Linked DNA regions of Homo sapiens: regions 2, 3 and 4 are each linked to region 1. Evidence: promoter capture Hi-C in 16 types of primary human blood cells and fetal thymus (Javierre and others, 2016). All regions are on one chromosome and are shown on one strand. Each heading gives the region's core, a stretch centred on a gene start or on the middle of the fragment in contact. The rest is flanking DNA. Distances are from core to core; before and after follow the strand shown. Region 1 holds the start of TBC1D23 (TBC1 domain family member 23). Region 2 overlaps EPHA6 (EPH receptor A6). Region 3 holds the start of LOC101929298 (a long non-coding RNA gene). Region 4 holds the start of RIOX2 (ribosomal oxygenase 2).

Evidence for each region. The method cuts DNA at HindIII sites, captures the fragments that hold promoters and counts their contacts. A CHiCAGO score of 5 or more calls a contact.
Region 2: a fragment that was not itself captured here is called in contact with the fragment with the promoter of TBC1D23 in region 1 in 1 of 17 cell types (non-activated CD4 T cells); the score reaches 9.6 in non-activated CD4 T cells.
Region 3: a contact is called between a fragment that was not itself captured here and the fragment with the promoter of TBC1D23 in region 1, in 1 of 17 cell types (non-activated CD4 T cells). The highest score is 5.3, in non-activated CD4 T cells.
Region 4: a fragment that was not itself captured here is called in contact with the fragment with the promoter of TBC1D23 in region 1 in 1 of 17 cell types (non-activated CD4 T cells); the score reaches 6.3 in non-activated CD4 T cells.

Annotation. Positions count from the first base shown.
Region 1 is chr3:100,258,261-100,265,313 of GRCh38, reverse strand. It overlaps TBC1D23 (TBC1 domain family member 23), which reads right to left and starts at 4,322. Exons shown (of 19, transcript NM_001199198.3): 1 at 4,243-4,322. The coding sequence starts at 4,295. RefSeq lists enhancers at 1,575-2,243, 3,581-4,249, 4,025-4,514, 4,250-4,918. The HindIII fragment of the contact is 5,201 bases long and covers 3,004-7,053 here.
Region 2 is chr3:97,757,166-97,764,218 of GRCh38, reverse strand. EPHA6 (EPH receptor A6) reads right to left here. Exons shown (of 18, transcript NM_001080448.3): 18 at 2,687-7,053. It overlaps LOC124906256 (a long non-coding RNA gene), which reads left to right and starts at 6,002. Exons shown (of 5, transcript XR_007095973.1): 1 at 6,002-6,090. RefSeq lists an enhancer at 1-130. The HindIII fragment of the contact is 1,619 bases long and covers 3,220-4,838 here.
Region 3 is chr3:97,816,679-97,823,731 of GRCh38, reverse strand. It overlaps LOC101929298 (a long non-coding RNA gene), which reads left to right and starts at 1,956. Exons shown (of 3, transcript XR_427389.3): 1 at 1,956-2,045; 2 at 5,229-5,328. CRYBG3 (crystallin beta-gamma domain containing 3) reads right to left here and starts at 1,721. Exons shown (of 22, transcript NM_153605.4): 1 at 1,377-1,721. The coding sequence starts at 1,525. RefSeq lists a silencer at 1,575-1,944. The HindIII fragment of the contact is 2,291 bases long and covers 2,344-4,634 here.
Region 4 is chr3:97,966,769-97,973,821 of GRCh38, reverse strand. It overlaps RIOX2 (ribosomal oxygenase 2), which reads left to right and starts at 1,391. Exons shown (of 10, transcript NM_153182.4): 1 at 1,391-1,441; 2 at 6,190-6,660. The coding sequence starts at 6,229. LOC124909398 (a long non-coding RNA gene) reads right to left here and starts at 1,169. Exons shown (of 2, transcript XR_007095976.1): 1 at 12-1,169. RefSeq lists a silencer at 1,207-1,646 and an enhancer at 1,917-2,176. The HindIII fragment of the contact is 1,259 bases long and covers 2,201-3,459 here.

The DNA.
Region 1 (7,053 bases), core at 3,073-5,572:
ATACCAACAGACAATTCCACAGCTCACAAAAACACTGGAGTCAGGAAATTTATATGAAATGACAGCTTAGTATGCTATTGCACATAATTACAGGAAAGTTTTCATTCATGCGTACATTCATTCAATAAACATTTACTGAGACACCTGCCTTTTATCAGCCACTGCCCTTGAGAAGTTCATTATCTAAAGAACAATGATAAGTCATGTAATTACACATATTTTAGTATAACATGTAAGGTGATACAATGTGACATATACAAATTCCTCTGACCTACTCATTCTGATATATATATAACCTAGAACCCTGCTAACTTAAGTGTGGTCCATAAACCACCAGAATTGGCAACCCCCAGCAGCTAGTCAGAAACAGAGACTCTCAAGTTCCACCTCAAAATATATTGAATCACAATCACAGTTACCTGGAGAGCATTTTAACAAGCTCCCCAGATAATTCCAATGTACGTTTAAATTTTGAGAAGCAGTGAACTAGAACATAACTGAAAATCAGCAAAAACAATGTCATAGAGTCCACATACTTTTAAGATCTTCAAGGTCCATCCTGAGCCTTTTTAAGAATGTATATACAATTTCAACAAGTTCAATGGCTTAGTTTCACAGACTAGGAACAAATTGAGATACCACTGACAACAAAAAAAGAAAATAGGAAAAACTTATAAAAAGCAATCTCAAAAAGGGATAGCTGTGTCACTTAACATAGCAACAATTTGTCTAGATAGGCCCTAAAAGTCTCACCACATTACAATAACACAAAAGTAATCGATGTTCTCAAACATGCCTCCTGTATCTAGAACATAAATTCCCTGAGGACAGAGACCTAGTTCTATCCTTAAATTACACTTACATTTGTAAACTGAATGACTCAAGTCATTAAGATGAGTTTGAGCTAGGCAGTAAGATATATGATACATTTTAGAAAAAATTCCATCTGACAGAGTTAAAATAAAAACATTTACTCCAAAAAGAAAGAGAGATAAAGAAAGAGAGGGAGGGAGGGGGAGGGGAGAGAAAGACAGAGTAGAACACCCGGATGGATGGGGCACACCTGTAGTCCCCAGCTACTCAGGAGTATGAGGCCAGCCTGGGCAACATGGCGAGACCTCGTTTCTTCAACAAAACAAAACAAAACAAGAGTAAAGCATCCCCATTCTATAACCCATTCACCAAGCACTCTAAGAACAGAGCCTTTACTGAACCTCTGGCTCCCAATCCCAAAGTCTTCCTATTCAAATCCTCTTCTGGGGGGCTGATGAGAGTGCCAGGATAAAAAGGAGAAAGATTAGAAGAGGATGGAGGGAAAACAGAAATCACCGACCATGTTAGGGTTCCTCCATTCATGAAAATGAAACCAGCAAAAATACAAAGACACACCAAAGATACATCAATCCTACAAGAGAAAAAATGCTGTCTCTAGTAAACATTCACTCCATGTCCTCTGCCCATGTGAACCAGAGATTCTCACAATCCCTCTAACCTAAGAACTCCCCAGAGGCACCTTAACTGTGGAAACATTTCCCCTCATGGCACTCTATGAGCTGGTTACCGCCAGTTTATGACACAATTCACCGTTCCAAAACAGCAAACTTCAGGCTATAACCAGCTAGGTCACTTTCTGAAAAGTGTTGTAATGTCTGTCACTGATTCTTAAAAGGTGCATTTAATTAGTTAAAAACTTTTTTACTATTTTTCCAGATCTATTTTTCTTTTTTCTCTTGCCATTCTTGCAGGATACCAGAAGCAAAAAGACGTATTTTTCTGCAACTTCTCTCCAACCAGGTAGTTCTCATTCTTACTCTCAAAACAAATTAGTTGTCTTGTCTATGCCCTTGCTTATGCTGTTACTGTCAGGCCTCTGAGCCCAAGCCAAGCCATCGCATCCCCTGTGACTTGCACGTATACGCCCAGATGGCCTGAAGTAACTGAAGAATCACAAAAGAAGTGAATATGCCCTGCCCCGCCTTAACTGATGACATTCTACCAGAAAAGAAGTGTAAATGGCCGGTCCTTGCCTTAACTGATGACATTACCTTGTGAAAGTCCTTTTCCTGGCTCATCCTGGCTCAAAAAGCTCCCCCACTGAGCACCTTGGGACACCCACTCTGCCCGCCAGAGAACAACTCCCCTTCGACTGTAATTTTCCTTTATCTACCCAAATCCTATAAAACGGCCCCGCCCTTATCTCCCTTCGCTGACTCTCTTTTCGGACTCAGCCCGCCTGCACCCAGGTGATTAAAAGCTTTATTGCTCACACAAAGTCTGTTTGGTGGTCTCTTCACACGGACGCGCATGAAAGTTACTCCATTCAGAGGCCTTTCCCATCTCTTAATCTGATTCTGCACTAATATGTTAGCTCCAAGCCATGTGTGGATATTTAATATCTGAAATGTGGCTAGACCAAATTGAAATATAAGGTAGCTGTAAAATGCACATTGGATTTTGAAGACTTGGCACAAAAAAGATGTACAATTATCTAATTTTTTAAACAATGATTACATGTTGAAATATGTTAAATAGATTATTAAAACTGATTTCACCTGTTTCTTTTTAGTGTTTTTTTTTTTTTTTTTTTTTTGAGACCGAGCCTCACACTGCCGCCGGGCTGGACAGTAGTGGCTCGATCTCGGCTCACTGCAACCTCTGCCTCCCGGGTTCAAGCGATTCTCCTGCCTCAGCCTCCCAAGCAGCTGAGATTACAGGCACGCGCCACCACGCCCGGCTAATTTTTATATTCTTAGTAGAGACGGGGTTTCACCATGTTGGTCAGGCTGGTCTGGAACTCCTGACTTCAAGTGATCCGCCCGCCTCGGCCTCCCAAAGTGCTGGGATTACAGGCGTGAGCCACCGCGCCCAGCCTTCTTTTCAGTTTTAAATGCTGCTACTACATAATTTTAAATTACAATATGTGGCTTCTATTAGACAGCCCTGGGGCTTAAATCCTACTTATTCTTCAAAGCCTAGTTGAAACACTGCTGCTTTCATGAAGCTTTCCCCCAGTGACTCCAACTGCCCCAGCCCCCACCGCCAACCTCTCGTAACACTTTGAATCACACTCACAAAGAATAAGATTAATTTTACCTTGTTACACCTTCCCAACTCCAACATAAGCAAGTTGAAGAAAAAAAAACTATATCTAGATCACCATGAAGTTTTCCTCTGACACCTTGGAGAGCCCAGCGCTACGGTAATGTTTGATGTCTGCTAATGGAGAGCTGAATTTCTTAATTACTAATTATCTATCCCTTTCAACGATTTCCATTTTTTTCCTCTGGGATTAAAGTCGATGTCTATCAATGTCCTGTATTATTTTTAAAGTGCCCATGAGCTGTACACATACAATATAACGAACAAGCAAATCCAAAACTAATACATGTGGTCAATACACTTAGATCAACTGTAAAATTTAGACAAGCCTCTAAAGGTCCCTTTTTAAAAAATGATGTTGTACAACCTAACAGTGTATCGTGAGATCAACTATTTCAAAAGTAGAAGCCTTTCCCAAAGATTAACACTGGGTGAGCAGTTTACCAAAAAATTATTGGCGGTCTTCCCCCACAATCCCGAGTATAAATCAGGTAAGCATGCAACAGCTTGGGTGCAGTAAGAGCAAAGTCCCACACTGCATCCAAAGCTCAGAAATCGAGCTGTGAGAAATGTGGTAGTAGGGGAAAAGATGACTTGCGTGAAGGAGACGAACGATGAAAACTGTTGGAATGCAAAACGAGATAACAGCCAGAATAAAAAAAAGTATACCAACTAAGTGGGAGGGATTCTCCTCGGGTCAACCTCTGAACCCTCAGGCGAAGGTCGCAGTGGTCATTTCAAAACGTCTTTTCTTCACATTGTATTTTAGTGACTCAGATCTGCATCCAACAAACTTCCTTCTTCAGCCTACTCCAACTCCCACAGCCAGGACTCCGGCCAAACCCAGCCCTGAAGCCACCCACTCCAGCACACTTTGGAGACTGACAGACGACACAGGAGGACCGTTCTGAGGCCCAGCACCTGGATGACACCCCTCTCCTTGGGAGTCCCGCCCCAGTCCCTTGGGCAGAACCAGGCAGGCAGGGGGCACCCAGCTGGCAGAGGGGTAGGGCAGGGCACCGGACTTCGCCTAGGACCGGCCTCTCCGTTCCATGCCGACGCCAGACGGCTCCTCGGGGACCGGCAAGATGGTGAGAAGGAAGAATAAAGGGGCATTGGAAATTAGCCCCGGCTTTCACTCACCAGCCGTCGCCGCTCGACGTTGGCAGCGGCGGCACATCTTCTCCTTCCGCCATTGCTGTTGACGTCCACGTCACTTTGCCGAAAAGTGGATCCGGCGCTGAGACCAACTCCGAGACTCAATGTCGTAAAAGGTCTTCGGAAGTCCAGCACTGAGCTTCCCCAGAGGGGAAGAAAGAGGGAGGTGGCAAGGGACTGGAGGAACGCAACGTCACGGCGTCCCGAGGCCGAAAGGCAGCGTCTTGGGGGAGGAGACTTGGTGGAGGCAGCTGCCCCTCCAAAGACTACATGTCCCAAGATGCCACGGTGCCGCGGGCGGGGCGGGGCGCGGTGGACGCCGTCCCAGTTGGAGGCCTTGTGTGACAAACAGCGTGTCTTTTTAGCGTCCACTTAGCGTCTTCATTCCAGCTTGGCGTCGAAATTAACAAAGTTAGAATTTACAGTCCTAACTATTGGAGAAAGCAAGGGAAATGGGAATTGACATAGGGAAGGCGGACGTAGGAGAAGAGCCACAGTTCAGTAATTTCCTGCTGTAGCAATTTAATTTGAAGAAAGAGTGGGACGTAAGGAAAGGGGCAGACCACCCCTATTTGTGAGGCCCCGTCAAAAGTGTAAATGAAGGCCCACATACTTTTTGACTGAATATTTAAAAGTTGTAAATGAAGCTATATACTAAAGGAGATACGTTCTAGCCTCCTACCTTAAATATATCTTCCTAACAGTCTGGAAGATCAAGTCCGAATTTAGAATTCTAGGACTGGAATTCCAGGCAAGCAGAGCTGCCAAAATCCTTCTCTACGCGTTCCACTTCCCCTTTACACCGCATGGGCGGACACTTGGCCACCGCCGGGGCCTTGGGGTGAGCACACGCTCAGGAGGATGGACCTAAAGAAACGCTTTTGCAAGCCCTGAAAACAACAGTGATGAAGTAGAACTGCATGTAACAATATGGATACATCTGAAAAATACGCTGTTAAATGAGCAAAACAGATTGCAGACGGATAGGTAAAGTATGGTATCATTTATAGTTGGTGTTTAAAAGACAATATATTTAAAATAGATCCATATGAGTTTAAAATGCAGGAGAATGATATATAGAAAACTCGGAATGGCAGTTACATTCAGGGAAAGGGAGGAGTTTCCATGAATTTTTAAATATTTATTAAGGGCCCCAAGGTGGCCACATAGGTGGCCAGTGTTCTTTATAGAGTCTATACTTAGGTATCTAAAATGTTTCATAGTTTCAAAAACTATTTGTTTTAAATAGATACAAAACAGTACAGCTATCTCATTTACAACCAAAAACATGTTCACTCTCTTCCCTAAAGGGAAATAATACAGATCTGCATGGTACTGCACCCACTTCCAAGGCCCGGATCTCTGTAATGTTCAGTTCTCTGTTAGGGAACATTTCTTTTAACATAGAATGAGACTGTAGATGCCCTCTATCAAAAAGAATAAAAGACGTGAATCTAGGTCACATTACCATTCTAATATTCAGGACCTCCCCTGGGTCCCTTCAATTGTTGCCAGTAGATTTTCAGAAACTTTTCAGAAAATGGTTTTAAAACCTATTCAGTCATTGACATGAGAAGCAGTTGCTCACTGGTTAAGAAGATTCTAGTCCTCAATTATGATTCATTTTGAGTATAATTAAATCAGCAACTGCTTTATAGTCTCTGGTAAAATATTTTCCCATTAAAAATATGTCACTTGACATTTTTAAACAGTTCTTTATTCTGTCAAAATAAAGTGGAAAGTTCTGACTTCTATGTTCTTTAATGGAGCCAGAGCCAGCTTCATGGGCATGTAGTCTATGCAATAGCATGAGACCACATGCTTAGAAGAACTCTGTGCTTGATTTCATGCTCTGGTGTTGCCATCTTGAAATTCTTAATAATTTGGGAACAAGGAGCCACTGGTTTTAATTTTGCACTAGGCCTCACAAATTAGGGAGCCAGTTCTAGATAGGGTCAATATCTTAGTGATGTATAACCCATTGGGGACAAGATTTCAACCAAAATTGTTTAGCGATAGTGTCTTCTAGCGGATTTTTTTTTTTTTTTTTTTTTTTTGAGACAGAATCTCACTCTCACCCAGGCTGGAGTACAGTGGCATGATCTCAGTTCACTGCAACCTCTGCTTCCTAAGTTCAAGTGATTCTCCCGTCTCAGCCTCCCAAGTAGCCAGGACCACAGGCGTGTGCCACCACGGCCGGCTGATTTTTGTATTTTTAGTAGAGACGGGGTTTTGCCATGTTGGCCAAACCATTTTTCTTTATTATTATTTTATTTTTATTTTTCTGAGACAGGGCCTCACTCCCTCAAGTAGAATTTGTTAAATTCTAATAATGGACCTCTGCTTAAAACAAAACAAAAATGCTTTTCAAGAACTAGAGAAGATTTCATTATGAAATCTTGGAGTGCGTCCCCTGCTTGCATTTGTGCATCTAATTGTAGTTCCCACATCCAAATGGGAAGGTGTATTATTTCATATTATCCTTGGATAAAATCAAAGCGTATTTCTTATAACAAGAAAATTAAAATGTCTTAGTTTTAAATTAAATTATAGAGAACATAAAAAGATTTTTCATTTATTATTTGGTGTTCTGAGCCATATAATTATGTAATTTATACTGTATTACATGTACTTAATTTGTACCATGCCTATGACACATAGTAGAATCTCCATAAATATTTGTAAAATGAACTAGGGAATTTTTTGTAGTACTTTTGTAATGGATTAAGCTATTCACCTATATAGAAATGGCTGGTTGGGTTCAGGGACAGGTAAGGATTATGAACTCATCTGCAT
Region 2 (7,053 bases), core at 2,780-5,279, 2.5 Mb after region 1:
GAGAACTGGTGTAAAAAGTCAAAAGGTGTTATTCGGCTAATAAAGTATGCCTGTACCCCTGCTTCTTAGTTGTGTGGTCTCCCGAAGAGATTTCTACCAGGCATAATCTCCTGTGAGTAGATTACAGTCTCCAGAATCAAATCGGCAGGTGGTCAGGAAAGGTATTAATAGTCAATACTTAAAGTTGACCACCTTCTTAAATTGCACTTGGATTTTATAGTCATAGTCACAAATGGTCTTCAAATAGAAAATATTTAGGCATACCCTTCCCCACATCTTTTATTACTGCGTTTTCCAACGGACACATTACAGATGCAGTCATTTTAAAGATCTAGCCTTTCAATCTGCCCAACTCCACTAACCTCACCCCCAGCGAATGGCCTCATTCTTCAAATAGGGGTTTGTATCTCTTCATTTTTTTTGTTTGCATGGGTGTAGGATTTCCGACCCCCTGCCCCCCACCGCGCGACCCTTTTCAACTAGCTAGTGTATGTTTACTGCACTGCCTGTTCTTTGGCCTGTCAATTCATTTGGCCTATTAAATGGACTAGGAGGGTGCAAAAAGAGACTAGAAGGAATTATTTCAAAGTAATATGGTAGGGGGGACGGTTGTAAGCGTGTGATTATGGGGTGATTTATCTTTTGTCACTTCTCCAAATTTCCAAATGTAATTGTCATTTTTACAGCGAAAAAACAAAAGCGGCTCTGGATTAGTGATTCTTGTTGAAAGACAAAAACAAAACAAAGACCCTATGGATGCATATCAACATATAAATGTCCTTGTAAAAATGGAGTATGGAAATACATTCTTTCTTACTGTGTGGTCTTAGCCCAATTTACCCTTCTCCGTGCTTCTATCCTCACCTTCAAAAATATAGTATTTATCTTATCTGGTAGTTCTGAGTATTAAAGATAACAGAAATACAGATGTTTGGCACATATTTATTGTTCAATAAATAATGTCCTGTCTTCTTTTGTCTTGAGCTTTTTATTGTGTAAACAAAATTGACCCAAACCGTAACTATGGTGGTTCTTTAACTTCTGAACTTCTAATCGTGAATGCATTGACAGGGAGGTGTTGAACACTTTTCTGTGTGCCTGGGTGTTGTGACTTACTTGTAAGAGATGGAAGCTAATGTGCTTGCGGCCAAAATATAACATTTTTTTTTCTTAGCGATCGGCAGAAATGTTATATTTCAGAAAACTTTCATGGACAGACTCAATTTTTCCTGCTAAAAGTTGATATTTTCTGCCTCTAGGTTGAGTTCATCTCTTTTGGCTTAATATAAAACATTTGGTGAAAACTGGAAATAAAATGGACATATTGAGCATCCAACTTTTCAGGAAAACAAGGCAGATAGATAATTCTTCTACAAAAATGTAGCTAGTCAAATCGTTATCTTAGATAAGTATAGTTGATAGATGGCTTATTACTAGAGATAAATGTTATGAAATAAAGCAGTAAAATAATCTAGAAAAAAATGTTAGCCTTGAAAATATTAAACTTAAAAAAACATAAAGGCTGCCAGGCCCGGTGTCTCACGCCTGTAATCCCAGCACTTTGGGAGGCTGAAGCAGGTGGATCACCAGGTCAGGAATTCAAGACCAGCCTGGCCAACATGGTGAAACCCCATCTCCACTAAAGATACAAAAATTAGCCGGGTGTGGTGGCACGTTCCTGGAATCCCAGCTACTCAAGCGGCTGAGGCAGGAGAATCGCTTGAACCGGGGAGGCAGAGGTTGCGGTGAGCTGAGATTGTGCCATTGCACTCTGGCCTGGGCAAAAGGGTGAGACCCTGCACTCAAAAACAAAACAAAACAAAAAACATAAAGGCTGGGCACACTGGCTCACACTGTAATCCCACCACTTTGGGAGGCTAAGTAAGGCAGGAGGATCTCCGGAGGCCAGAAGTTGGAGACCCCATCTCTATTAAAAATAAATACATATAAATATTTCATATGGTTGATTCTGCTGTTTTGGTGCTTTGTCAACTGAAACTCCTCTCACGAGTACATTCAGAGGCTGAGATACAATTGTTTCGCTTGATTTAAGAAGTTAGTTTGACTCTTTTTTATTATGACAATAACAAGCTTTAAAAATGCTACGTGATTTTCTTAAAGCCACTTAACCATAACAGAAGATAATTTTAGGTACCTTCTCACCAGTTTTAATTTCATACTGGCTTTTAGAACTGTAGTAAGAAAATTATAAAAAAGAAAAGAGTCAGATATAATGAACACAGCACTGTTCTGATTAATTCAGGATACTTTAGCGTTATTTTCTCACCAGCAACTTTTAAAAGAATATAGATAATCCCTGATTTATAACTTACTGCAACTTTTTGGTGTAAACTTTGGTCTAAAGCTGTGTTTCAACAGTTGATGTTATGTGTACCCTTTTTTCATCTGCAATTTCTGTGCAGTACTGCCTCTGCAATGAACACTTTAATTTACTTGAATCTCACAAAATATTTTCCAATATAAAATCGCTACAAAAATATTTACTAGTTTTTTATAGTGATTTCTGTGAATTTATGTCTAAACCTAATGACATTATTTAAAAAATTTACAACTATGATTTTGCATCCAGAATTACTAAATTATCTAAACAGCATCTAGATTTATTAGACCAAAAAATAAATTGCATTAGATCTGCATAAATACAACAATACAAAAAAGTCACAAATTCAACCACCAAAGCTGTAACTTTTATTTGCCAATAGATATTTTAATAAACAGGCTTACTCCATCTGTAAGACCCTGATAATGCCTCTTAGGAAATCATAGAAAAATAAAATACAATAATTAGTAATTTGTACCTTGTACAAAAATCTTATTATGTTGCTCAGCAGGTAGTTTGCTAAACAGCATATTCTTTCAGCAAATAGATGACATATGTTATGCAATTCACCACAAACAACCCCTCATATTGAGAGCTGAGCATTCTATAACACTATTAACTTGTAAGCATGCCAGCACATGAAAATTTACATGGAAAGTTATTAATATTATAGTAGATTTTTGTAAGATAAAAATAGTACCACCTTCAAATAAGTCTGGACTACTTCACTGCTATAGTAAAGTAGATAATAGGTAGGATTGCAGTTCAATTGTTAACACCTTTTTACCTTGTTTATAGCTCTACCATATTGTGATTATAACCAGAAAAGAGAATGTAGGCTGTGTCAGGAACCTGAGTGGAAGGCATATATTGAAGCTTTAAATGGTGACAGAATACTAAAGAGAAAAACATAAAACAGTGCTATACTTCCCTATTCTCATAGATAAATCTTTTTCCCCTTTTGTAAGAGCAGATGGGTACAGAGTTAAATCCTTAATTAATAATAAATAGCTTCATGACAAGTTACAATGATGCTTTAAAAATCATATTTGTACTTATAGGGAGGGAAATTATTTTTAGCTGTCGTTTTTTATTAGTCAAATATAGCTCTATGAGGGATTAAATATCTCAACCTAGACATGTTATCTAGGTATTTTATATAAATATGCTATTTAGTTTGCATATACTTCAGGATTTGTGCTACAAAGATTTTATAACATTTTGAGTGCACTGCAATTGTTGATATCATCTACCATTTAAAATTTGATGCGGCCATTTAAAATTTAAAGTGTTTAATCAAATACATATGTATATGTACATCTATATCTTTATATTTTTGGCTATGCTAGAACAGCAAAAAATGGAGAGCAATCTCCATTATTCACAATCTAATTTCACATCAAATCCAAATAATAATGCATCTTTAAATTCCAACATATTGAATTACATACAACCTAGAGAGATATATATACACACATACACACATACATATGTATATATACATATGGTATATATACATATATATAATATATATATATATATCTCCAGAAACAAAGCACCAAGCACAATTAAAAGATCACATTCTTCCTATAGGATAGAGGGGCACAATGAACAACCAACCATATTGCCCATGTGTTTTCCGTAAATGACAGAAGGCATTGTTTTCCTATATGAAAACAAAATAATTTTTACTAAAAGATTAGTTCCTGTTTGTCTTTTATTTTAAAATTTACATGGGACCTCAATACCCTCCCAAATCGTGTTTGAAAAAAGTGACAGGTTGATTATGCAATATACATCTTTCAGGATTAAGCTAATTTTAAGTTTGATAGGCTTTGCATTATAACAGATTAGCTACAAAATGTTTCTGCCTTTTAATCTGTAATAGATGAAAATAAGGAAAACAGTATTTATGGCATTGAGAAGTTCTCAATCTCTACATTATGGAAAGGACTCTTACCAGAGTCCTTGGAAACCACAGAATTCAAAGTTTCGGGTCTTCCAATAAGATGTCTCAAAAATATTTAGTAAAGATGCCTTTAAAATATTTCATCAAATATATATTCACTTTCCTACTATCCAACTACTTACATATGTCTCTTCCAACCTATACGTCCTTCCCATCCTGCATATTGGCTTTTATCTCATTCTTGGTAAAATTAAAAAAAAACTTACGTAGTGACATCCTTCCCTTTCTACCACAAATATACCAACCTATTTGCACATTACACATTCTGCCTTCCTTTCATTGGAGTTCTATATTCCGGCACCTATCAAAAATTAACCTCCCTACTTATGCTTTAAATCGCAACCCCTCTATCTCTCAAGGCCTTTGTTACAATTATCATCTCTCTTGCATAATCAGTTTTCCCCTGTCTGCCAAGTCATTTTCATTAGTAGATAAATATGCTGTAGCATCCTTAAAAAACAAGACAATTCCTTGACTTCCTTTCTCCAGCTATTATCCTATTTCTCTTGCTCCCTTTACATCAAAGCTTTTTGAGAGAGTTGTTTATAGATAGTGATTTCACCTCCTTCCTTTACATCTCGCCTTAATCCATGTCAGTTGGGATTTGACTCCACTATTTCATAGTTGATAGTTGACTCCACTATTTTCATAGTTGATGACCTTGTGAAGGTCATCAACAACAACAACTTCCATGTTGCTAATTCCCATGGACATGTCTTTGTTCTAATCTTGACTTCTTAAAAGCATTTAATCCAGATGAGCAACTGCATTTCCTTTTTCTCTAGCTTACTTTATACTCCATTTCTTCTGTTTAATTCTAATTATCTGCCTATTAAACATTGGAATAGCATATAGTGCAATCCTAGGCCTACCTCCACAGGCTTTTCCTAGGTGATTTCCAAACTTTAAATAGCATATATATACTGATGCCTTCCAAATCTTGAAGTAGTGAATCCACCACGTTTTTGCTGGAATTACTCCAGTAGCCTCATGCGTATACCTTCTCCTCTTTTTGCCTCATTTCAGTGTACCAAGAACACTGTTCTCTACTCTCCAACACTCCAAATTTTCATTCATTAACTATCCCCCTCTGCTTGTAATTTCATTCATTAAATTTTCCCTCTGCTTGTAATGCTCTTCCCCCATATCTTCTCATGGATGCTTCCTTCATGCTTTTCAGATATCAGTTTAAATGGCATGTCCTTGGGGGAAGATTTCCTCTACCGCTTAAAGGAGCCACAGTCATGCTATGTAACATTTTTAATTATAAGCACAGCACATCACTATTTCTTCATTGTGTGTCTTTATCACTAGAAGGTCAATTCCATGAGACAGGGACTTTGCTTGTCTTGGTCACCATGTATCCTCAGTGCTTCGAACAGGACAATGGTACATGGTAGTGTTCAATAAACAGTTGAATGGAGTGAATGGACTTACAGATAAATATATTTTAAAGGTATGTCAGTATATGTATATATATGAAAATTTAGGAATTATACAATTTTGGACCAGTAAGGAGACATGATCTCCTTTAATTTGTTGTTGCTACGGTTATATTTGTTATATAGTTTAAAGAGGTAAACACTAAGCTTTGACTGATATTTTTGATTGTTATATTATAGATACCTTATTATTGCATTTAATGGTAGAGTGATCAAGGTTGTAAGGTAGGGAAAACGATTATTTTGTTTTCTCAAAGGTTTTTGGAAACTCTGAAGAAAATAAGCAGATTACACGTAAATGGAGTAGCTTTTCACTCTTGTTTGAAGTATCCTACTTGGTAAGATTTTACAAACTGAATAAGCAGTAAGTAGTGAGAAGTAACTATAAAAAATATATGTTCTTTTTTTGAATTTATAACATCCAGTGGAGAATTTTCATTTTGTATTTCCATTCATGAGAAGAGTTTGCTTTCTCTAGCAAATTTTAGGGGATATCAGACTAATATTAAATAAAAGAAGAATAACTTCAAAAAGAATAACTTCTAGCCACTGTGCTATGACACTTGGTTTCAACTTATTTGAGAGTTGGAAACTTTCAAGCATAATGAGACTGAATGGAAATATAAAAAATACAATGGCTCTTTTTTAAAATACTTAAAACAACTGGAAAGAGAAGGCAATCTTCTTGAAAGAATGTAAGCATTTAGAGATCAAAACATATTATATCACATAAAATTAATATGTAAGTACTATGTTTTTAAGCATTTAAGAGTATGTGTAAAATTAATATAACTGCTTAACAAGATAAATTGATGCTAAAAGACGGTATCAAGTAAGTTCCTTTTTTATGCATCTTTATATATACTATTTTTATATTTAATGATGGCTGGAAAAAAATCTCTTTATTATCCATGGGATAATTTATTAATATGTTTAAAGTGCTATGGCAGTCCAATATTCAATGTATTATTATTTGAATTTTTTGGCAAATTCTTTGATTATATATGTCTTGGAAAACAAAGGATTAATAATATGGAAATGTTAAGAATTTTGATGACTTGTTCCATTACAAAACATTTTTAAAATGAACTTTTTCCTATTTTTGATATTTTGATGACATTTCTTTCTAATTGTATGTATCAATACATATTTTAACAACTATTAGTGTACTCATTTATATTAGAGATTCCCATCCTTGAAATGCACTTTAGTTTCAAAATTACCAGTAAGAGTACTGTGACATACTTTTTATTCACTCTTTTCTAACAGTTTTTAAAATGAGGTAAGTAACAATTTTAAAA
Region 3 (7,053 bases), core at 2,240-4,739, 2.4 Mb after region 1:
GCGTTCATATTATCCAAGACTGTTAGTGCTGTTACGGCGGTGGCAGGCACCACAGGCTGTCTGCCCACACCAACAGAACTAGCTGACACCCTGGATGAGATCTGTCAGACTTAAAAACTATTTTTAACTTCTGTGTAACTTTGAATTTTAAACTCTCAACAGTCAGAGCAATAATAGCTGAAACGTCCCAGGAGAATAACCACTCAATTATCGTAGGAGCTTTCTTGGAAACATGTGGCATGTTATTAACAGACGGTCATAATGAAAATGTTTCACAAGCGGGGAAACCGAGGAACACACAAACGACTAAAATCACATCACAAAATCTGAATACTAATGGAATTGGCTCACTCTCAGTTCTGTTTCCTATCCATTTTTTTTAAGCCCACCAGGAAATCTTGAGTCCGAAGTAAACACGGTTTTCTGGAGTGTGTCCTTCCAATGACAATGGTCATTCTAGTGCAATCTCGGGAGAAGACAGTGTAAGCCTCTCATAAGTTTAAGAAAGCGAGCTGCGTTTTACTTAACCCCTCTTTCTTCGGGGGGATGAAAAGACTCAGAAACAGGCATTTAAATGAGGCATGTCTAAAATTTTTTGATTTTTGAACATGGGAAAGTGAAGGAAAGATAAAAATATTACAGAGAAAGGGTACATTTTGATTACTGAAACCAAGACAGCTGGAAACCTGATTTCCAGAATCTGTTTGGGAACTTGAGGCAGATGTTTCTAGGAGAGATGAGAAATAAAGAAGGGTGGCGTCATTTACATGTCCAGTCCATTTTGGTGAAAGTCTTGGGAACGCATTATCACAATTCCTTTTAAAAATCATTTTGAGAAAATTTAAATAAGATGGCAAAAATACCAGCTGAGGGGGTGACGCCCCAAAGCTTTACCTTTTCCACTTTTGCCCCGATCTCCTCCCACACAAGTGGTGCTGGGATCGCGCCCCCAATTCCCCTGGCCGACGGCTCCGCTCGGCTCACAAGTGTTTCCCATTACTGCAGGCGGGACGCCGGGGAAATCGCTTTTGCCACAGAACTTGGAGAGTAGAGCGTGTGTGGAACGGGAACCCAATCACGTCCGGGCAGGGGAAAGTGGGAAAGGAAGAGCGCGGAGCCAGGCGGGGATCGGGGGATATGCGTCCGGCTGCCGGGCAAGAACTTCACCCCGATTTAACCTGCAGAGGAGAGGCGAGTAGTGCGGCACGGGAACGGGGCAAGGAGGAGGAAACTTTAGCAATGGAGGAAGGAGAACAGAAAGTGGCGAGCGAACTGCAGCCTGGCCCAAGAGCGGCCCGCTGCCGGCGGTCAGGCCGGGAGCCTTCATCCCGCGAATATGTGCAGGGCCCCCCCGCGACCCCCTCCTCGACTCCCACCTGGCAGCGGACCGGCCTGGAGCTGGAGGCGGGCTCGTCCCCGGCCTCTCCTCCTCTTCCTCTTCCTTGTCCCGGGAAGGACTTCGGGGAGCGAAGAACCGGGAGAAGCTGTGCCAGGGGGCGCTGCCCCTTCTGCGGCCGCTGGACATTTCCCGAGGGGGCCGCTGGCCCGGGGCTGTCTGAAGGGAACGGCCTAGGTGTTGCCTGGTGCCCGGAGCCCGACCGGGCGCCGCGGGATGCGGCTAGGGCAGACCGACTCGACGCGAGCTGCCAGCGCGGCTCAGTCTCTCTCGGGCAGGAGAAGTGCGGACGCGACGCGCTCCTCGCGCGGCAGCTCCTCACGCCGCTGCGGCTGCTCCTCCTCCCGCCCTCGCCCGGCGCGGCCCGCCCCACCCCGAGGAGGAGCCAGTGGCCGCGGCACCGCCCTGAGCCGGGCGCAGCCGCCACCGCTGGGGCGCTACGTGGTCCCCCGAAGGCGCCGGCCTGAGAGCCTGAGGGGAGTCGCCCAGCGTGCGACGCTAGGCTCGGGCTTACGGCTCAAACAAGTTCAGGCTGCAGCCTGTTGGGCTTTGCCTTCAATTACTTTCTGTGACCGTTGTGTTTTCTATTCTACAGTCAGAGCACAGAAACGGTTTTCTTCGGGCTTTTGAAAGAGGTTTATGAACTAAGGTTTGTGAAAACACTTGGCAAACTGCAGTACCGGGGCGCCCCGGACTTGCTGGGAGCTAAGAAACAGCTACCGCAAATACAGCTCCAACCCTGAGGGCGAAAGTCGCGTTAGCACAGAACCGGGCGGCGGGAGGGAGAAGGGGGTACCTGTCAGGCGGTCACCACCTCCCGGCGCGTTCTGCTGGCTTTCTGTGGTGTGACTTTTCCTAACCGCGCTGTGCTTCAGACTTTTCACACGCCATACTTCCCTGCGAACTCTTTCAAAAACGGCACTGATCAAAAAGTATGATTTCAAGCTTGTCAATGCTGCAACATATTTTGCAGTCGTTACACAGATGCCACTGAAATCTGGGAACCAAAGGGTGCTTAAGACTTGTTTTAAGTCTAAGTACAGTGGTATGGATTTTTCTTGGTTTTTCATACCCTATAGCAGCTAGTACAGGAGATACTGAGAGGCCCATTCACCCCAAGTGTTTTGTTTTTGTTTGAAGGCAAGCTGCCCCTGGAGTAGACGTCAAGGAAGTGATATGGCTTTTGTTCATTAAAAAATGTATACAAGTAAATGAGATAAAAATGAAATGTCCACAGCAGAGGGGAGCCTTGGAGTAATCTCCCCTCTGGCTTTCGGGTGCTGGAGGAGAAGGTTGCTCATAAGTAGATTGCATACCTATAAGCCCCAAGTCCTTTCAGCACCTGCTGGAGGCTATTGAGCCTCCCTGCCTCCCCACGCTGCCTCCCAGAAGCCCTCCAGCTCCTACTAACTGCAATAGAGCCAAGACACTCATTCTCATTTGTTCTGGCAGGATTTAACCCATTAAAGTTCAGTCAGCCCGATTTCCATCAATCGGGTTCATCTCAGTCTATCCCTCAAGATTAATCCTTTTTTACTCTTTGGTAAATTTTTCCTATTTCTCTGTGAGCCTAGTCTGAGAAAATAGAAAAAGACTAAGATAATAGACTAGAATAAGACAAGTTCCCAATTCTAGCTTTATTATTTTATAAGAGAATCTCCACTGAAGACCCACTTACCAAAAAGCCCAAAGAGAGTAATAAAGCAAACTGTTTCTTCCAGCTAAAAGGCCCAAATGATAATTTGTCTTCCCAACGTATTATTGAATGACTATCACATTTGTCCCTGACTTGTTCTGTGATCAAACCAGGCCCCAGTGCCTACCCAGAGGGTACTTCGTTCAGGAAGTTTTTCTTGGAATAAAAATGGGGGGGAGTCAATAGGATTTAATTAATGAATTATGGTTTTAACTAATAATATATCTAACAATACTCTGATCTCCACTCGGTAGCACAGCAAAGCACTTAAGTGAATGGTAAATACAAATAATGCCATGTTTACACTAAGACAAATTGCGTCTATGACAAAATAGCTTAAAGTCATAAAACAATGACCATTGAATTTTCCTTCATTTGCTTTCTGAGCACTTATTAGTTTTCTATATGTCCTACATTGTTATAACCTGAACTCATATGAACAAATTTCTAAATACTAAATTCTAAGATTGCATTAGGAAGCCTGTAAAAATGTCAAATTTTAGAGCTGTAAGGATCTTAGAGATACTAATTTAGCACAGTGTCATTAATTCACTGATCCAGTTATTCCCCGACGTTTAGTGAGTGCCTGCAGTAGAAGCACATCTACAGTGAAGCCGATGAGGCTCAAGTTTCTTGGCTCCCTGCTGGCACAGTCTCTTCCAGTGTGAACTCAGCAATGGGATCCATGGCCAGTTTTATCAAATTTACAAAAGTAAATGTTTTAATGTGATTAAGACCACAATCTCTTTTTTTTTCCACTTAGATGTCCACTTAGATTTTCTTTTCCACTTAGAGTTATCAAGAGCATTTGGGAATCTGCTAGGGAATTTCAGTTGGGAATATATTTAGTTTGGACTTAGTGGAATATATTTATGTGGTTTCCAGCCTCTCCAAAGTATAGTTATTTCTTAAATTCCAATTTGTTTGTAGCGCAGCTCACCAAGTATTACACCCAAGATGCAGAGCCAGAGGAGATATATTCTGTGGTCTCTGACACTGAAAATATGTGGGTAATAGAGGTGAGACAAGATTTGAAAGGTAAAGCAGCATCAGGTGTCATGTGGAAAATTATTCCAGGCATCAGAAGACAAAGTTTCAACAGGAAGGATTGCCTCCGATTGATGTAATTTCTCTCATAGCAATAATATATTCAATAATGCAGTATATTTAATTTTTTTTTTGAGACAGAGTCTGGCGCTGTCACCTTGGCTGGGGTGCAGTGGTGCAATTTCAACTCACTGAAACCTCCGCCTCCTGGGTTCAAGCAATTCTCCTGTCTCAGCCTCCAGAGTGGCTGGGACTACAGGCGCCCACCACCATGCCCAGCTAATTTTTGTATTTTCAGTAGAGACGGGGTTTGACCATATTGGTCAGGCTGGTCTCGAACTCCTGACCTCAGGTAATCCACCCGTCTCAGCCACCCAAAATAATTTTTATAACTGTAAACACAAAACATTTTTTCTTGTTGATGTAAACCATGTAAAATAGAATTTATCAGAATTCTTGTTTGTAGGGTACAAACCTGTAGCAGTACCACAAGCTTTGTGTGTGTGTGTGTAGTACTGCATGTTTACACAGCCTTTCTATCAATAAGAAAAACAGAACTAGAGGAAAGATTGCATTATCTTTTCATTATTATGGAAAATAATATTACTAAATTATTGTCATATGAAAGGCTATTGAAGAGTACACTGCCAAAAATATAGGAAAAAAAGTGATTGTGCAAGGCATTTAGTAAGAAAACAAATTGTTTTTCTAGTCAACCTTTTAAAATTAGTAATTTGCATGGTTTATGTTTTCATTCAATATATTCATTTTTATATCTAATTTTCTTTTAAATCCTTTTTCTTTAAAGAGGACCCTCCAAATTGTAAAAACTTCAGATCCCACAAAACCTGGATATGTCCTCTAGTGCATACTATGTGTCAGATACATGCTCATTCTTAGACATAGAGATACGGTGATAGATAAGACCAAATGCTTAACATCAAGGAGCAAGTTTAATTGGGCAAGATGAGCAAATGGGGTAAGATGGGAAACATAGGACGGATCCCCAACTTAATCTGAAGGGTTCCTGGAAGGCTCACTAGAGGAGATAACTGTTAATATGCTCTCTTCTTCTCTGCCTCCTTTTAGCACCTGATTTCCACCTATAATACTGTAATTCAATAACTTGTGTGATATATGAGAAATCCTGAAGTTCATCACACTGTAACTGAATTGCCATTCCCACAACGTAAGTACCATTCTCAAAGGTATGAGAATAGAATGAAAGTGTTGATCCTTGAAGCATTTAAACTGCAAGAGTAGTTTAGTAATGCTAAGCGTTTTTGTTCTGAAAAGTCCACCAGGGAATAAGCTTCTGTATATATCTTAGAGCACAGTATTTACTGTGTGGCAGGTGGCCCAGGAATATTAAGACAGCTGTCAACATCAAGGAAAGCACCAGCCCATGAAAAAGCAAGCAGATGGATTGGGGCACTTCACTAGCTGCCTCCTAGAATAATAGCTGTGCGTGGCCAAATGAGGCAGTGTCATGCGGCCCAGGGCAGCAAAAAGCTATTACTGAATATAAGCACTCAATTAGGAGGTGGGGTGGGGGGAATATCTTCTCTTTTCCTTTGTTTATATGCTCAAATTTTCATTAAGAACTCCCACAGCAAATAAAAAAGGGGAAAAATGATGTTAGCATTTCTCATTGTTACTTTCTAATTATCATGGTTTGTAACATGGGGAAATGCCTGTCTTGCTGCTTCAATGAGAACAGATGGTAAAATTTTTAAGTAATTGGTTATTCCAACTTCTATGAGATGCATGATGTTTTATTGTATTGTTTGTCTGGTTTTTGTTTGCGGAACATGTGGAGATTGAGATCTTTCGAACACACATCTTTTAATGCTTAAATTAAGTAAAATGTGTTAGTCTGACCTAAACTACATTTACACTTTTCTCCCTTTGATATGATGATACTTCAAAGAGAAATTAGTCCTTTACAAAAATATAACATTAACATTAAAAATTAAATATATAGCTTTCAAACAGCACAAAATTTGCTAATATTGAAACGTACTTTTAAAAATGTATAAATAGGGGTAGCATGTCTTTGACAAACACTGATTATAACATGTGTTCCAAAATAGTTGTTCACACCAATTCAGTGTGATGTGTCTTTTATCTAAGTCAAATGCTATCTAAAATATAAGGTCATATGTAAGATATTAAGTTTTATTAATGGAGCTTCATAAGCATGACGTAGATAATGGCTCAGAATAATAATTTACTATTAGATGAGAAATTCATCCTCTATATTGTTTTCCCAAAATATTTCATCTGACTTCATAAACTCTGCACTGTAATATGCACTTCTGATATACAATTTTAAAAGTATTCCATAAAGAATGATTATTTATAAATTTCTAGACTGCATTATATTACTGTTAGTTGTAAGTTTTGTTTCTTAGGGCTTTATGAAACAAAGCTTTGGAGCAAAACAAACAAAACAGAAAAAGTGGCTGTGAACTGGTTTCCTTTTTATCTTATTGTGACGTTTTATAGTATACATGTCCCAGAAGCTAGAGCTTTCTTACTATGGGTACTTTGTTCTCAGTTTGATTTCTTGCAAATGGTTTAAAAACAAGGCATAGTGGCAGCTGCTTTTGTGAGCAAATGTTTTGATTAGGGAGAGAAAGCAGCTGGAAATGCTACATGCTGTCATATAAAATGAACCAGTTTTCACATGGGAACTTTACCTAATCTAAAATTGAGATTAACGTAATTTCCTGTACATGAATTTTCTTTGCATAGAATAAAATAGAAATCTATTCACTTTGATTACAATTTGGAGTGATGAAATGATGAACATAGTGCTGAATATAAACTTGACATGTCTATGGAAATCTTACTCCATTCTGAAAGAAAGTATCATTAACAAACTTCCAGAAAAATTTATTTAAAAATATTG
Region 4 (7,053 bases), core at 1,581-4,080, 2.3 Mb after region 1:
TGAGAATTTACCTTTATCTGAATCCCGGGAACAGCAATATTATTCTATATTATCTTGAGTAGATGTCTTGCAGTCAAAATAAAGAGCGAAGTACATTACCAATATCATATCAACTAGAGATTTTTGCTGTTGACTATTCTTTTTTACCCTGTAAGGGCTAAATTTGATGTTACCCTCGAGTTTTTCCAACTGGAACCTGCCAGGAAACTTACTAGTTATACGAGTATTAGTAAAACGTGAAAAAGACCAACAGTTGACTGACTGGTTTGGCTCTAATCTTGTTTCTGCATCTTCCTAGCTGTGTGATCTTGTGCAAGTTAGTTAACCTCTCCTGACTCAGTTTCCTCAACTGTAAAATGGAGGTAATTGCAAGGTTGTAGTGAGGATGAAGTGAGGAGTATTTGAAACACCTAGCGTGGTGCCTTATAGCCAGGAAGAACTCAATTCAAGACTTGCTATTATTGTTAGTTTTAGACAAATACTAGACAAGGGTGTACTTTGTTCCCATTTGTTCATGTGCCACTTGATCCTTAGAAGCAGCCACTGGTCTCAGTCACCTTGACGGAACGAAATGTCGACTTCCTCTGGGTCCTCTGGCTGTCTACAGAGCAAAGAAAGGCACAGGCCCGCCACTGATTTCCCTGCTCCCTCATTTGTGCCTCCTGACTGGAACCAAATGTTCCAAAGCAGGGAGTGTTAGGCTGAAAGGACTCAGATAACTGCATTTCTTCTGTTTCTATAGCCATAGTCGCAACGAATTTCCAGTATCTTTTAAAACTAGGATTGACTCTCTCTCCCGGAGCGAGATGATATAAATGACACTCGGCTTGTACAAATCAGCATTGTGTAGCCACACAGCCCATAAGAAAGCCATGGGAGAACCCGGACCACCAACTCCCTAAACTTGCACCGCTGGTATTCCTCTTCAGGCCTGCTTCTCTATTCATAAAAGGAACGGAGTTGCACCAAAACGCTCTCTCAAATCCTCTCCTGCCGCCCCAAGTTAAAAGAAAAAAAAGGAGAGCCGGGTGGGTGGCTCACACCTATAATCCAGCACTTTGGGAGGCCGAGGCAGGAGGATCGCTTGAGCCCGGGAGGTAAAGGTTGCAGTGAGCCAAGATCGCTACCACTGCACTCCAGCCTGGGCGAGAGTGAGACCTTGTCTCACATACCATAAAAAAAAAAAAAAAAAAAAAAAAAAAAAAAAAAAGAGGAAAAAAAAGGCCATTTATTTCCTTCCATATGGACTAAAGAAACGCCCGGGCGTGAACGCGGAACACCGCCGGGTAGCCAGGCCTCCGGGCTGCCACCACTTGCGGGCCGGCGTGGCGGGGCGGGGCGGGGGCTGGAGCACGGCCCGGAGCGTGCCCACGCTGCCCCGCCTCCAGCCGCTGCGCCGCAACGCAGTGGGCTCGCGGCCGCGAGCAACAGGCCGTGCCGGGTGAGTGGGGCGCTCTCGTGGGCATCCCAGCGCCGGGGCAGGCCGGGTAGTGCCCGATCCCGCGGGGCGCGCGCTGCTGCTTTAGGCACCCGGGCTCGGGTGCGGGTCTGGGAGACCTGTCGGTCGGCGAGAAGCCTCGGTGGCCGGCGCTGTGGTTGCGGGACCTGGGACGCGCTCCCAGGCGTCCCACCTCCCCGGAGACTGGGGCAGGGTGGGTGGGGCCCGGATCTAGGGGTAGGGTCGCGGAAGCCTTGGTTACAGAGAGTCGCACACGTGGCCTGCTAATGGTCGCGACACCGGTGACGAGCGCACGGAAAGTTTGGAGGCTTAGCAAGGAGGGTGGTGCCGGCCTCCGCCCGGTGGTGGCAGAACTGCCTGTGCGAGCACGGCTTCCACGTGGGCTGCGCCGCCGGGCGTCATGTCGGGCCTAAGAGACACGCTCTACAGCTGTGAAATCTGAAGTTCAGGTGTGTGGGGAGAAGGGCAGCTGCATTACATCATATGCTTCCAATTCATTTACCAGCAAATAATTCCGCAACGATTGGCCGACAGCTGGGTTGTCCAACAGGTTACTGAGACCAGGTTATTCACTGTTTTCAGGAAGGATAGACTGGGAGGAAGAGGATCTGATTTCGCCACTCATTAGCTGTAAATCTGGTGCCTCGGGTTTCATGTCACTGGGCTCATCTTTGAGCAGAGGAACCTGATTTACTCAGCTTCTTCTGCTGGTACTGGTTTTTGCCTCCTGGACATCAAGCTTTGTAACCTCATGGTCACGAAAATACATTGAGGTATAGTCCGTTTCCTCTCTAAAATCAGACTAAAAAGATAACTGCTGATCACTCCTTTAGGTCAATAGGAGAACCAGTTTTCCCTCTGGATTGATTAACATATCTCTGAGCCAAAAAGAAATGTTTTAGATCAGTCTGGGCAACCTTGTTACAAGCAATATATAATTTCTGACAGCCGTGTGTTTAACTGAGCTGCGTTTGACTGTTGTCCTCCATTAGTGGACCTAAAATTCATCTAGAGAGCGTATTACGTTAATGCAGATTATGGGCCTCAGCCATCAGAAGTGGCAATCCAGTGGGCTTGATGAGGGCCCAGAAATTTGCATGCTAACAACCTTGCTGGTAACTCTGAACTACATTCTGTAAAACTGCCCAGGGGATGTAGAAATTCATACTTCCCTCCCCGATTTAGTAATAACTACTGATGTCTAAAGTGCCTTTTAGCTTTTACGATACTCTTGAATCCTGAAGTGACAGCTGCAATCAGAAAAATAATCCCCTCTGCACAGGCCATCTGTTTTTTCCGTAACTGTTTTGTGTAAGGCCTTTGTGGTTTGTCTCCAAAATTGTATACAGACAAAAGATGAAAATGTGAAAAATTCAGCAGACATTTCTTGAGGACCTCCTATGTACCACACCGTGCTTGTTTCCGGGGATATACAAATCCTTTCCTTCAAGAGCTTCCTCACGTCTTCATGTCCTCAAATATTATAGAAAAGGAGGTTAGGGTACCTTTAAAATATAGTGACTGTCTGTCTGTTGCCTATAGTATGGTTGTCAACATTGATTTTCTTATAGGGTTTATCTGTGGGGTAGTCACCAAAGTATGAACTGTAAATCTTTTAGTCTTTTTACATTTAATGCTTATAGTCAACTCAAATGGAAAACAATTGCTCTTCAAAAACTTTTCTGTGATTTTACAGAAATATTTACTCCTATTGGGGTGGTCTCTAAGGCTTATGGGCAAGGTTGTGTTGGCTGTACTATTCTAGACAAAGCATTGTCTTCTTTAATTACTATAGTATTGGATTCTAAGATATGTGTTTTACTTCTTGCTGTTTCCGAAATTATGATATGTACCTTAAGACTTTTGTATGTTTAATGTGGTAGGATGCTTCATCTATTCTCCCCTCTGCTCTAGAAAGCTGTTAAGAGGAATGGTTGTCTTACAGTATGAGTAGTGTGAGAATCAGAGAAATAATGTATTTGCCCAGAAACCTCTAAGCTTAGGCTCCAATTAACTGAGCCTCAAATCATTTCAACATGAACACAGAGAAACAAATGATGTAACTTTTGGCAGTATGGGTAGTGAAATTTATATTCTAAGGAAAGCATTTGTTATACAGTATTGGGGTTTGTTAGTGATTGTAGATGGGAAAGATTCTTTTAAGTGATTTTATTTTGGCTTAAGTGTTTTGCATTCTTTGATTAGCCACACTTTCTGGTGAATGTGCTTATACTGTATTCATATATTATGCTTAAAGAAAAGCTTTTCGTTTGCATCTTCCTCCTGCTCTCTCCCCTTAAATGAATTTTAAACTGACCAATTGTGAGAGATAAGAGATGTGTGGCTGAATATAAAATGACTCTATAGGGTGCCTTTAGTAATACAAACCTAATAAACCAATCTAAGTTTTTAAAAATTAAACGTGAGCAATGTGCTGTGGTCCCCAAGGCCATCTTTAGTTCAGCAATTTGCTAGGAGGACTCGGCTGATTTATTACAGGGAAAAGATATCAAGCACAGTCAGCAAAGGGAAGAGGCACATGGGTGAAGTTCTGGGGATACCAAGTGCAAGGCTCCAAGGGTCTTCGAGCGGTCACACTGGCTGTGCTCAGTTGCTCCAGCAACTAGTTGTGTCAACACTTGTGAAATGTTGCCAACCTGCGAAGCTTGTTAGAGACTCAGTGCCCAGGGCTTTTACTGGGGGCTTTTCACTTAGGCCACCCCTGCCTGGCACATACCAACGTTTCCAGACTCCCAGAGGAAAGCAGGTGTTGGTATAAACTGTAATGATTGTACATTTTAGGCATGGTGAGCCACTCCTATCAGTTAATGGTGGTGGAAACTCTCCCAAAATCTTAAGTTCTCAGACATCGGCCACAAGCTGCACTTTCAAAGGATAGCAGTCAGGCCTGCTATGGAACGTCTTCTGCATAAGCAGTACCCCTTCCCGAATCCATTTTTCTATCTCTTTGTATTTCTCCATCACTTGAGAGTTCCATGTACTAGCAATGCTGTGCCTTCCTGAAGCCTTAATTCTTTCCTGGAGAATTCAAGCTGGTCTGTTTCACTTAAAGGAAACATTTTCAGAAAATGTGTCTTACTGACCACATATCCTAAACACTAAAGTTTATTTTTTTTTTCTAAGCTTCAAGCTTTACCCCTCTCCTGTAGTATCAGTTTGTGTTAGTCTTCCACCATGTCCTGTGTTTCCTTATCAAAAGCACCTGGTCTTTTGAAGGAATGGAGCTGTTTAGAGGGTTTTATATTTTGACATTTCCTTTCTTAATTTGTTCAGTTTACATCTGGGTTTCAATCTAAAGTTTCTTTTATAAGTTGCAACACGTCACACAGTATGCAACACATCGTTCCAGGATGCTTACTTCCCAGGCCAGAACATTAATTCCACTTAGTCTACAGTGTAGCTGAAATACTGCTTAGTTATAATGACAAAAGAACAGAAAACAGTATTCTTGCAATTCTGATAACTCACCAAAGTAGGAAACTATACCATTTATAAATAACAAGTCTTTCAGAAATTTTGGTTTTTATAAGTACAGTGGTTCTTAACCTTGTCAGGAGATAGGGACTTCCTTAAGAATCTGTTGAAAGTGATGGAGTCCCTTCCCAGAGGGAAAGGACTTTAAGATAGAATTTTGCAGTCTCAGGAAATTTAAATAATTTGAATTACAGTTCTTGGAAACAGATGAGGGAAACCTACCCTCTAAGTATCAATAGTTGTGGTTTGGAGGCAGTTCTGAAGGAGCTTTGCAAGGCTTGGCTGTGTGGCTTCGACTACTCAGCAGTGTCAGCAGCAGAAGCATCACCTGGGAGCCTGTTAGAAATGCAGAACCTCAGGCTTCACCTTGGAGCTAGTGGATCATATCCTGCATTTTATTGAGATGCTAAGGTGATCTGTGTGCACATTAAAGTTGGAGAAGTGCTGTGTTAGGGGCTAATGATATTGGTATTATTTAAAATCTTCAGTTAAAAAGTTATAGTTTTTTCAAGGCTTTAGATATAACTACTTTTAGCCTTCACTTTTCAGCCTTTAGGGGCTTTATTTCTTTAAACGAAGGGGAGTTTCTGATAAAAGTGGCCGTTTTCAGGAATAAGCTCAGAGTTGGAAGTGAGCAGGTTCAGGTGGTTAGTGGAGACAGGAGAAGGCAGTGGCCTGCTCCAGCCACCAGGAGACACCGCGGGTCCAGGGCGCATTGATTGACCTGCGCAACAGTTGGGGTGGTGCTGCGGTGAGGAGCACCTGGCAGTGGGCGGCTGTTAGTTTTTCTCTAGTCAAATGTTTGTAACTCAGAGTACATCTAATTAGATGTGGGCCCTGATGCTGATGGGAGCCAAATCCAAGATATTTGACTTTGCTGTGTCAGTGGCCACAGGCTAAACCTGTGAGTAGGAACTGCTGAGACAGTTGAATAGGTTTATTTGGGATAATTATACTGCCTAATAAATAATACCATGACATAGTGCTTGTGTAAAAGAAAAACACGTTCTTCTTTAGATGAATATGTCATCTGAGTGGTGGTTGAGCTTGAATCATATCTTAGAAGAAATGGCATTGGCTTAAGGCTGTCTCCTATCCTGGGGGAAGTAGCTTTGACCTATGAAGAGTTCTCACGAAGGTGTAATGGTCATTCAGTTGTGTGTGCGCGCGATCCACTAACACCAATGCTGGCACTCCTTGTAAACCTAACCATGTGTGTTTTGTTCTTTTGGTAGGTTTGCATTTCCTTACTGCTTTGTCTTGAAGACAGAACGATGCCAAAGAAAGCAAAGCCTACAGGGAGTGGGAAGGAAGAGGGGCCGGCTCCCTGTAAGCAGATGAAGTTAGAAGCAGCTGGGGGGCCTTCAGCTTTAAACTTTGACAGTCCCAGTAGTCTCTTTGAAAGTTTAATCTCGCCCATCAAGACAGAGACTTTTTTCAAGGAATTCTGGGAGCAGAAGCCCCTTCTCATTCAGAGAGATGACCCTGCACTGGCCACATACTATGGGTCCCTGTTCAAGCTAACAGATCTGAAGAGTCTGTGCAGCCGGGGGATGTACTATGGAAGAGATGTGAATGTCTGCCGGTGTGTCAATGGGAAGAAGAAGGTTTTAAATAAAGATGGCAAAGCACACTTTCTTCAGCTGAGAAAAGATTTTGATCAGAAAAGGGCAACGATTCAGTTTCACCAACCTCAGAGATTTAAGGTAACCAGTTTCCCCATTGCAGAATCCTCATACATTTTAAAGTACTAACATTTGGCCACATATCAGCTCAAGGGTGAATACGTAGTTTGATGATGGTTAGTCTCTTGCCAGTTTGAGAAGGGGTAGCACCTCTTTGGTCTAAATGCATTCTAACTAGGATTAAGATTATGTGTTATGTTTGGTTGGACTGTTAGAAACTCCAGCAACTCAGGGTAGACATTGTTGGGTATCATTGAGCTGCAAAACTAATTATACTGCAAGTTTATAAAGTTGTTAAAGTGGCACTACAACTGCAGGAGTATGTTCTGTGAGCCAGTTTATGTTTTTCTATATGATAGACATTTCTATTTGGTTTGTCACATCACTGTAATTTAAGGCATGACAGCATCAAGG